Linked DNA regions of Homo sapiens: region 1 is linked to region 2. Evidence: promoter capture Hi-C in 16 types of primary human blood cells and fetal thymus (Javierre and others, 2016). All regions are on one chromosome and are shown on one strand. Each heading gives the region's core, a stretch centred on a gene start or on the middle of the fragment in contact. The rest is flanking DNA. Distances are from core to core; before and after follow the strand shown. Region 1 has its middle 6.2 kb from the start of TRS-GCT4-2. Region 2 holds the start of RHOV (ras homolog family member V).

Region 1 (5,502 bases), core at 2,568-5,067, 290 kb before region 2:
ACACTTGTACATGTGCCCCAAGAGACATATAAAAACAGTCACAGCAGTGTTCTTGCAGCAAAAGACTGGAGATAACAAAAATATCCATCAATAAGAGAATGGATACCTAATTGTATGTTCAGATAATTGCAAACTAATCAGCAGTGAAAATGAACGAATTATACGGATAAAACAGTGTCCAGTGACAGAAGTTACAGATGAATACGTTATATAAAATGAATACATTATATAAAATTAAAAAACAGACAAAACATATTTAAGACTACAAATATGTATAAATATGTATATTTGGTAAGAAAAACAAGAGAATGATTAACATGAAATTCAGAAAAGTTGTTATCTTTGCCAGACACGGTGGCTCACGCCTGTAATCCCAGCACTTTGGGAGGCCAAGGCAGGTGGATCACGAGGTCAGGAGATCGAGACCATCTTGGCTAACACGGTGAAACCCCGTCTCTACTACAAATACAAAAAATTAGCCAGGCGTGGTGACATGCACCGCAATCCCAGCTTCTCGGGAGGCTGAGGCAGGAGAATCGCATGAACCCGGGAGGCGGAGTTTGCAGTGAGCCGAGATCGCGCCACTGCACTCCAGCCGGGGGCGACAGAGTGTGACTCCGTCTCAAACAAACAAACAAACAAACAAACAAAAAGTAGTTACCTTTTTTTTTTTTGGAAATGGAGTCTCACTCTGTCTCCCTGGCTGGAGTGCAGTGGCGGGATCTTGGCTCACTGCAACCTCCGCCTCCCAGGTTCAAGCGATTCTCCTGCCTCAGCCTCCCGAGTAGCTGGGATTATAGGCGCCCGCCACCACGCCTGGCTAATTTTTTGTATTTTTTTTTTTTTTAGTAGAGACAGGGTTTCACCATATTGGTGAGGCTGGTCTCAAACTCCTGACCTCGTGGTCTGCCTGCCTCATCCTCACAAAGTGCTGAGATTACAGGCGTGAGCCACTGTGCCCGGCCAAAGTAGTTATCTTTTTGGTGGGAGGATGCCTCCAGGAAGGGACACACAGGAAGCATCAAAGGTGCTAGTAATCTGCCACCTGCCAAGAGGGTAGGAAAAAAAAATTAAAATAATTAAAAATCATTTTTTAAAAAAGAAACAAAGGGGCTGGTAATGTTCTATTTCTCAAGCTGGGTGGTGTATATACAGCATTGCTGTTTTTTTCTTTCTTTCTTTCTTTCTTTTTTTTTTCGGAGACAAGGTCCTGCTCTGTTGCCCAGGCTGGATTGCAGTGGCACGATCATGGCTCACTGTACTCTCGACCTCCCAGGTTCAAGTGATCCTCCCACTTCAGCCTCCTGAGTAGCTGGGACCGCAGCACACACCAGCACACCCAGCTAATTTTTGCATTTTTGGTAGAGACAGGGTTTTGCCATGTTTCCCAGGCCTGTCTGGAACTCTTGGGCTCAAGTGATTCACCCATTTGAGCCTCTTGAGTAGCTGAGAATATGGGTGCATACCACCACACCTGGCTAATTTTTAATATTTTGTAGAGACAGAGTCTCACTGTGTTACCTAGGCTGGTCTCGAACTACTGGCCTCAAGCGATCGTCCCCAACCTTGGCCTCCCAAAGTGCTGGGATTACATGTGTGAGCCACTGCACCTGGCCTTATTATTGTTATTTTTAAACTGTACATGCATATTACATTACGTATGTATGTATTGTATAATTGTGTAATACTATCAAGATAAAACTTTTAAACAACAAATATTAAAATATCTCACCTCTTTTTTTTAACATTTGGTTATCTCTGAAATAGTGACTCTCCTCTTTCAGTCCCACTGCACAACTCTTTAAGATCCATTTGACCTTCACACAGCTGGTGGGTGCTACTCCAAAGTGCCTAGACCATGGGTTGTTTTCACCAGTGGTGGAAAGATAACACCATACACCTAGTATTTTGGAGACTATAATGGTAAGCAATAATTAATAATTTGCAAAAATGGGCCAGGCGCTTGGTGGCTCACACCTATAATCCCAGCACTTTGGGAGGCTGAGGTGGGCGGATCATGAGGTCAGGAGATCGAGACCATCCTGGCTAACACGGTAAAAGCCTGTCTCTACTAAAAATACAAAAAAAAAATTAGCCAGGCATGGTGGCGGGCGCCTGTAGTCCACCTACTAGGGAGGCTGAGGCAGGAGAATGGCATGAACCCAGGAGGTGGAGCTTGCAGTGAGCTGAGATAGCGCCAGTGCACTCCAGCCTGGGCGACAGAGCAAGACTCCGTTTCAAAAATAATAATAATAATAATTTGCAAAAATGACTAACTGCTTTAATTTGCCTTAGCAGATTCAAATACAACTTCTCCATCATAAAAGAACTGAGGGATCTAAAAGCAGTTCATGGCTTTGGAATTCTAGACCCCGCATGCTCTCCGACACAAAGAGCCCAAGAACTTGCATCTTCTATCTCTTCATTACCAAGACATCTAGACAAAAGGTTCTTGAAAATGTTTTAGTAATTCAAGTAAATAATAAGTGATGCAATTATTCTGGTTCTTTTTTCTTTCCAACATTCCAAATGTTGAAGTTAAAGTAGGTTAGGAATTTTAAAAGGAAAGCTTTATATCTGATCTAAATGCCAAATCTTCCAGAATCACAACTGAAGCAAAATTGCAAGGATTAGTCATTTTATAAGCCAAGATATGCCAGAAACTGCCAGTAAACTACAGAAGCTAGATGAGAGATATGAAATAGATTCTCCCTCACACCCCTCCTAAGGAACCAACCCTGTTGACACCTTGATCTCAGACTTTAGCCTCCAGAACTGGGAGACAATAAATTTTTGTTGTTTAAGCAAAATTTTTTGGGTTTTTCTGAGACAGCCTGTCACCCAGGCTGGAGTACGGTAGCATGATCAAGGCTCACTGCAACCTGGAACTCCTGGGTTCAAATGATCCTCCTGCCTCAGCCTCCCGAGTAGCTGGGCCCACAAGTGTGCACACCCATGCCTGGCTAATTTTTTTTTTTTTTTTTTTTGAGGTAGAGTCTCACTCTGTTTCCCAGGCTGGAGTACAGTGGCACAATCTCGGCTCACTGCAACCTCCATCTCCTGGGTTTAAGTGATACTCCTGCCTCAGCCTCCTGGGTAGCTGGAGTTACAGGTGCATGCCACCATGCCTGGCTAATTTTTGTATTTTTAGTAGAGATGGGTTTTTTTGCCACATTGGCCAGGCTGGTCTCGAACTCCTGACCTCAGGTGATCTGCCTGCCTTGGCCTCCCAAAGTGCTGGGATTACAGGCGTGAACCACCGTGCCCAGCCGCCTGGCTAATTTTTTTAATTTTAATTTCATTTTTTGTAGAGACAGGGTCTCACTGTATTACCCAGGCTGGTCTCGACCTCTTGGCCTCAAGCAGAACTTCTGCCTTGGCCTGTCAACATGCTGGGATTACAGGCATAAGCCATGGCACCTGGCCTCAAAAAAGAATTTTAAAGCCTTGCATCTTGGGCTGAAATAAAGGCCACCTCTGATACCTCCTAGGTTATATAAAAAATGACTACTGACAGTCATTGAAAGGAGAGTTGATTGGAAGTGATCCTTTCAGTGAGTTCCCAGAAACTGACATTAAGGAACTATTTCAGTTTTTTAAAGCTAAAAAATCAAAACAAAAACAAAACATTTTTTCAGATGTCAAGTTTCTGTGTTATTCAATAATTTAAAAATCAGAATTCTAGACCAGGCACGGTGGCTCACACCTGTAATTCCAGCACTTTGGGAGGCTGAGCGGGGCAGATCACCTGAGGTCAGGAGTTTGAGACTAGCCTAGCCAACATGATGAAACTCCATCTCTACTAAAAATATAAAAATTAGCTGGGTGTGGTGTGGCGCGCACCTGTAATCCCAGCTACTCAGGAAGCTGAGATGAGAGAATCGCTTGAACCTGGGTGGCGGAGGTTGCAGTGAGCCAAGGTCGCGCTACTGCACTCCAGCCTGAGTGACAGAGTGAGACTCTGTCTCACAAAAAAAAAAAAAGGAAAAAAGAAAACGATCAGATAAACAACTGGCTAACTATCCATCACTACCTCAGCTTGGGATATACCATAAAGTGTTATTCCCTATTTCCCTGAGTCTTTGGCATTTACTCATTCATCTTGGCTTTCCTAGACAATGTTACTAAAACTGGATTTCCGTTTTGCTCTACTGATCTTCAATATGAAAATGTTATTTAGTTTTCAGTTCACTAGACATTCCTAGAAGTTGTTGTAGTATTTTCACACGATAGAGTACATCTCAGGGAATGATTTTAGAAAAGAAAAACGTTTTGGGTCGGTGTTGTAGACTCAGAGCAGAATGCATGGATTCACTATGGAACCTCTCCAGACCCTGTCATCACTGTGTTCCCAGAGATGGTTCTCCAGTGGGAGAACCTAATGGTAAGGAACAAATTGACTTCACTTCTGTCATTGCCTGCCTCTCAAAACCAGTCTTTGCAAGTCTTGGAGCCTGAGGTCTGGGTTTTTCTTGCAAGAGTTAAGAAATAAACTTTAGATGTGTCAAAAAAAAAAAAAAAAGCCAAACCGAACAAACAAAAACAAAGCATTGATTTCAATTCTTCCTTCAGAGCTATGTCATATAAGGGCTGCTGCTGACACACACAGCCTGTCTGGGCTGTGGACCAGTTTATTATTTCATAATAAACATTGGCCATTGATTCCCAGAGAACCTCATTTTCAAAAGAGGGAATTGGTCCTCTTAAAGCTGGCCCCAGATAATGAAGACGCATTGCCTAACACTCCAATAGTAAAAGAGCTGGAATATCTTGGTAAGATATTTATGCAACAGTCCTTTGCTGTGGTCTTCCAGAGGTTGAGGTGTCCTGCAATAGTTGAGGATAGTACTTGCAAGGAAGAACGTTGGTGTTGGTAGAGAACGGTTTCTTTGAGCTGTGGTTTGTTGAAGAATTTGGGGAGTTAATGGAGATCTCTGTAGACGAGAGCATCCATCTCGGTAGACGAGAGCATCCATCCCTGTAGATAAGAGCATCTTGTCCGAGTCTTGCAGTTGCAGCTGCTCCAGTAGATGGCGCCTCTAACTCTTTTCCTGTCAGCTTCTTACAAGCTTCTCTTTCCGTTTCTAATTGAAGTATTTCTTTTTCTTTCCCTTGACTTTTTTTTTTTTTTTTTTTTTTTTGAGACGGAGTCTCGCTGTGTCGCCCAGGCTGGAGTGCAGTGGACCGATCACGCCTCACCGCAGCCTCAACCTCCGGGGCTCAAGCGATCCTCCCACCTCAGCCTCGCAGGACTACGGGCGCTAGCGACCACACCAGCCTCTTTCTTTCTTTCTTTCTTTTTTCTTTCTTGTCTTTCTTTCTTTCTTATTTTCTTTTTCTTTCTCTTTCTTTCTGTCTTTCTTTTTCTCTCTCTTTCCTTCTTTCTTGAGACAGATTCTCCCTATGTTGCTTGGGCTGGTCTCGAACTCCGGGACTCAAGCAATCCTCCCACCTCAGCCTTCCAGAGTGCTGGAATTACAGGTGTGAGCCACTGTACTCAGC
Region 2 (5,642 bases), core at 3,036-5,535:
TGGTTATCATGAGGAGAAATGGGGCATCTGGGAGGTGACAGGGAGCTCTTTCCAAACTAGGGGATCTGGCACAAGCCAAGACTGGGAGTCAGGAAGTCGGAAATAGCTGGGGATCACCAGAGCGAGCTGGCCTGGTCCAGGGTGCTGTCAGATTTGAGAGGGCCTTGAATGCTGAAATGAGGAGCTGGAAGTTCATCATCAACAGTGAGAGCCAGTAACAGTCTTGAGCCTTGAGTTGGGGGATGCCAGAGTGAACACAGCAGCACGGGACAGATTGGAGTGGGGAGCTGCAGTGGCAGGGACCTTGGGGTGTGGGTGACAGAGGTCCTGACCAGACTTGGAGACCCAGCAAGAGAGGAGGCATGGTGACCGAGGTTTCAATTTGGGTGACATGGATATACTAGTACCACAAGAGAGAATTAGGGAAGAAGTTGGAGGTGGGGGCGGGTACAAGGATAACCCCCTTGTGGGGGATGATCCCCACCCCAAGGCACGTCCAAGGCCCCTCAGAACAAGTTTAAGAACCTCAAACCCAGTCTGAGTCCTGAGTCCTTCATTTTTCAAATGAAGACTGAGGCATAGAGAAGGGAAATTATTTGCCTAAGGTCATGGTTGGTGTCAGAGTCTGAACTTGAACCCAGGTTTCTGCCCCAGAGGGGAGTGTGTCAGGCTGGGTTGAGGTAACAACAGGCCATGCTGCTGGGGTGTGAGACCCTCAGCACCTCCACCTGAAGGGTAAAGGGAACAGAAGGAGCTCCAGTTGGCTGGAGCTCTGGGGACAGGCCCTGGTGGGGCAGGAAGTGGACAGTCTTGGCTAAAACTAAACTTGGGGATTATCTGAAGTTTCACTTGGCTGGGATTTCTGTCCCTCAGCCATGCTCTTTCACACACACAGACACAGACAGAGACAGACAGACAGACAGACATACACACACACACACACACAGACACACACACACAGCTGTAGCTTCCTGCAGAGGGAGATGGGCTCAGAGGTGGGCTGGGCCAGGGCATGAGTGCTCATCTGACCCAGCAGCTGCCTAGCAGGTGTGCCAGGTGTGCCTCAGAAATTCCTCTCCCAGCTGAGCCCAGTGGCTCACACCTGTAATCCCAGAACTTTGGGAGGCTGAGGCAGGCAGATCACAAGGTCAGGAGTTCGAGACCAGCCTGACCAACATGGTGAAACCCCATCTCTACTAAAAATACAAAAATGAGCCAGGCATGGTGGCGCACACCTGTAATCCCAGCTACTCAGGAGGCTGAAGGAGGAGACTCGCTTGAACCCAAGAGGCAGAGGTTGCACTGAGCCAAGATCACGCCACTGCACTCCAGCCTGGGTGAAAGAGCGAGACTCTACCTCAAAAGAAAAAGAAAGAAAGAAATTCCTCTCCCAGAGTAACACATACCCCTGTATCCAACTCTAGAGTTTGCAAAGTGCTCTTACAGTCACTGGGTGATACATATCATTTAAGCTATTACCTTTTCTGTCTGGTCCTCAGTCTCCTTATGGTAAAGTAAGTTTTGTTTTGTTTCATTTTCTCCCTGGGTGTCCTTCAAAGTCCCTTCAAGCTCCAACATGAGGGAATGTTCTCCAGATCCCTGCTCCTCTCCAAGTCCTCTCCCAATGAACTCGCTCTTGCACAGGATACTTGGGGATAAACCTCTATTTAAATTGTTCACAAGCAGCACCCTGACCTTCACTAGCTCCTTAGGTGCCAAGGCTGAAGACTGGGTCCAACCCAAGTCTAAGAACTTTGGCCAGTGATTGAGGTTTAGGCTGTATGGGTTCCCTTTATGTTCAGGCTGTGAATAGAGGTCGGAGGGGGGGATGGTCCCCTAACCTGAGCCCCAGGGCCCTGTGAACTGCCAGAAGGAACAGAGCAGAAAAGTTAGAAGGCTGGGGACTGACCTTGAGCTCCAGTGCTGAGCATGGTGCTCTAGAAAGGAGGGGTGGAGGGGAGGGGCTCCACCCACCAGGTGAGGTCATGGGAAACCAGCTCTGGCGCTGACACCTGGGGAAACCCGTTTCCAGGCCGCTTCCCACGCTAGCTCTCCTGGGAACCAGCTGAGCCCCAAGCGGGGAGCTCCACACCTACCCCCACAGTCCAGTTCCCATTACACTGCCCCCACCCCCAGTCCAGCCCCCACCTTTCAATCTAGCCTCAGTCCTTTGGTCCCCAATCTGTCTCTAGCCAGGCAGTTAGGCCTTGAGGAGGGTTCTGAGGGAGGAGTGGGCTCCAGGAAATGACAGAGACAACGCACGCCTTCACAGACTTAAGGTTTTATTTGCAGACTCTGCACTGCTCTAGCTTCTAGGCTGTGTGACCTTGAGGAAAGGGATGATCCCCAACCCGGTCCTCCTTCAGGTTCTAATTTGCAGCTCCTCCCCCTCCTTTTGCTGGGCCTTGACTCTCACTTCCTGCCCCACTCCTGGCTCAGCCAGTTTGGGCAGTGCCTAGGGAGCCCAGAGACCCAGTTCTTCCCAGGGGCCAGCCCCGCCCTCCCTGGCCTTGGGGATTGAGGGCAGCCCAGGTGTCAGCCTGCTCCTCATCCACCCCACTTCCCTCTCTCCTCCTCCTCGTCATCTTCTTTCCAGGCCTTATCCACCATCAGTCCCAGGCTCCAAGACCTCTTTTCCTGCTCGCTCTCTCAATCTCTCGCCCACTCCATCCCAAACTTCTCTCCAAATCGGGGTTGAGCCCCTTCCAGCCCTCCATAATGCCAAGCGTTCCCCAAGCTCTTTCTCACCCCTGTGCCAAGGAAGGGTCCTAATTCAGCCAGGCTGACCTGAGGGCCCAGGACAAGAAACTGGGTTCCCAAACTGCTCGGAGGTGACTGACCCTGTTAGGACCATCCCATGAAAATCAAAGTGCCAGGTTTTTTTCTGTGAGCTTTGACTGGAGAAATCCAAATCAGAGCCTTCCCTCCTAGGCTCACCCAGGCATATCAGAGTGGGCAGTTAGAGGCCCATGTCCCCCGAGTGTTCAGAAGGGAACTGAGTCCTATGAGGTGGCCAGGCCCTGCCAGTAGCTGCCGCAAAGGCCCGGGTGCCCCAGGTCTCAGAAGTCTTTGGCCTCCTGCCTACTACTTGCTATGCAGCCATAGCTGCTCAAACGAAGCAGAAGAACTTCTTCCAGCGGCAGCGGGAGAGGGTGCGCACACCTTTGGCATTCAGTTTCTTCTCCAGCCGGGCTTTGTGCTCAATGGCACTGAGAATAGCCGAGTCAAATACTTCCTTCAAGTTCTTCTGCGTCAAGGCTGAGCACTCAAGGTAGCAGCAGGCTCGGATCTTCTCGGCCAGACCCTGAGCCTGGGGTTGGGGCACGGGGCCCTCCCGGCCCCCCTGGTCCAGCTGAATTAGTACGTTGACATCGTCCCTCAGGTCGGCCTGGGTGCCCACCAGCAGCACAGGCGCCTGGGGGTTGTGCGTGCGGATCTCGGGCAGCCATTTCTCTGTGATGTTTTGAAAGGAGCTGGGCTGCACCACGCTGAAGCACGCCAGGAAGACATCGGTATCCGGGTAGCAAAGGGAACGAAGTCGGTCAAAATCCTCCTGGGGTGGGAAGGCCAGGTGGTAAGGATTAGCCCCCCGACACATGGAATCCATTTCTCACCCGGGGCTGGAAACCTGAGACTCCAAGAGCCCAAGGCTTTCTCCATTTGCTCCATATGGGGTCCTCCCAGCCTCCAGCCCATCTCCCCGCAGACCAGTAGAGGCCGCGCCCAGCTTCTCACCTGTCCCGCTGTGTCCCAGAGCTCAATGCGCACCGGAGCTCCATCCACCAGGACTTGCACTGCAGGGGCGGGGCGGGGAGAGCCTGAGTTAGGAAGAGCGTCCTGGGCCGCACCAGCGCCACCTCGGGGCCTGCTCCAGTCTCCTCCCCGGGGTCCTCTGCGCCCTCCCGCCGAGACGCCCGCCCCAGCTCCCCGGTGCACAGCCCCGCCGCAGCCACGCGGCCGCACGGGCGATTGAACGTACGTACCAGAGAAGGTGTCCAGCGCAGTGGGCCGGTAGCGCGCGGGGTACCCATTGCAGGTGTAGCTGACGATGAGGCTGCTCTTGCCCACGGCGCCGTCGCCCACCAGCACGCACTTGATGCCCAGCTCTGGGGGCGCGCTACGCCGCCGCGGGGGAGGGGTCGGGGCCCGGAGCGGGGGCGGCTCGGCCTCGCTCAGCTCCCGCGGCGGCATGGCCCGCTCCGGGGGCAGCAGAGGGGCCAGCCCGGGTCTCGGCTTCGCTGCGCTCGGTGAAGCAGGTCCCGCTGGCTGCCTCTGACTGAATGGGTCCAGGCTGGGCGAGTCGGCCCAGCGCTACCAGCGGGTTTGTGTAGGGCCCCGCCCATCTCATCTACATGTTTCAGGCGGCCCCGGACCCCACCCATCGGCGAAGATCTCCCGCGGCCAGGCACCCTGCGAGGCCAGGCGAGGAGGAGGAAAACCCCGGGAGGAGGAAAGGCAGGCAGAAAGCTGGAGCTCCAAGAGTCACGCAGGTACAAGGACAAAGAATCGTCAAATGAGAATACCAAGAAGAGATAGACATCCATGATTTATTGTTAGGAGGAAGAAGCAAGTTGCAGAACATATAATACAGTATGTTCAGGTTAAACAAGTGTGCAAATTAAACCTTGTTCAACTTACAAGAAACAACTCTATGCATATGTTTGCATGAGTATTAAAAAGTTGGGATAATTTTATTAATGAAAGAATTACTTTTTTAAATATTGAGGCTGAGAGCAGTGGCTCATGCCTGTAATTCCAGCGTTCTGGGAGGCTAAGCCAGGAGGATCACTTGACCCCAGGAGTTCAAGGTTACAGTGAGCTATAATAGTGCCATTGCACTTCAGCATGTGTGACAGATCCTAAAAACAAACAAACAAACAAAAAACCTGTTGACCCCTGAACAAAGCGGGAATTATGGGCGAGAAACCCTGTGCAGTCAGCCGAAAATCCCTATATAACTTTTGACTACCCCAAAATTTAACTATTAATAGCCTGCTGTTGCTGGGCTCCGTGGCTCACGCCTGTAATCCCAGCACTTTGGGAGGCCGAGGTGGGTGGATCACCTGAGGTCAGGAGTTCGAGACCAGCCTGGCCAACATGGTGAAACCCCGTCTCTATTAAAAATACAAAAAATTAGCCAGGTGTGGTGGCGGGTGCCAGTAATCCTAGCTACTCAGGAGGCTGAGGCAGGAGAATCACTTGGACCTGGCAGGTGGAGGTTGCAGTGAGCCAAGATTGGGCCACTCCACTCCAGCCTGGGTGACAGAGCAAGACTCTCTCTTAAAAAACAAAAACAAAAAACCCCCCAAAAAAAGTAGCCAAGCATGGTGGTGTGCATCTGTAATCCCAGCTACTCGGAGGCTGAGGTGGGAGGATGGCTTGAACCTGGGAGGTGGAGGTTGCAGTGAGCTGAGATCATGCCATTGCACTCCAGCCTGGGCAACAGAGCCAGACTTTGTCTCAAAAATAAATAAATAAATAAATAAAAAATAGGCTGGGCGCAGTGGCTCACACCTGTAATCCCAGCATTTTGGGAGGCTGAGGCGGGCAGATCACATCACGAGGTCGGGAGATCCAGACCATCCTGGCTAACACGGTGAAACCCCGTCTCTACTAAAAATACAGAAAATTAGCCGGGCATG

Evidence for each region. Contacts are between HindIII fragments. The CHiCAGO score rates a contact against its expected background, and 5 or more counts as called.
Region 1: a contact is called between a fragment that was not itself captured here and the fragment with the promoter of RHOV in region 2, in 1 of 17 cell types (M0 macrophages). The highest score is 5.0, in M0 macrophages.

Annotation. Positions count from the first base shown.
Region 1 is chr15:40,584,931-40,590,432 of GRCh38, forward strand. No RefSeq gene overlaps it. Among named protein-coding and RNA genes, the nearest start is that of TRS-GCT4-2, 6.2 kb to the right of the region's middle. RefSeq lists an enhancer at 5,242-5,291. The HindIII fragment of the contact is 2,500 bases long and covers 2,568-5,067 here.
Region 2 is chr15:40,869,949-40,875,590 of GRCh38, forward strand. It overlaps RHOV (ras homolog family member V), which reads right to left and starts at 4,286. Exons shown (of 3, transcript NM_133639.4): 1 at 3,984-4,286; 2 at 3,736-3,794; 3 at 2,266-3,553. The coding sequence starts at 4,191. The coding sequence ends at 3,110. LOC124903475 (a long non-coding RNA gene) reads left to right here and starts at 3,794. Exons shown (of 2, transcript XR_007064600.1): 1 at 3,794-3,975; 2 at 4,362-4,640. RefSeq lists an enhancer at 1,893-2,182 and a silencer at 3,821-4,340. The HindIII fragment of the contact is 13,617 bases long and covers 1-5,642 here.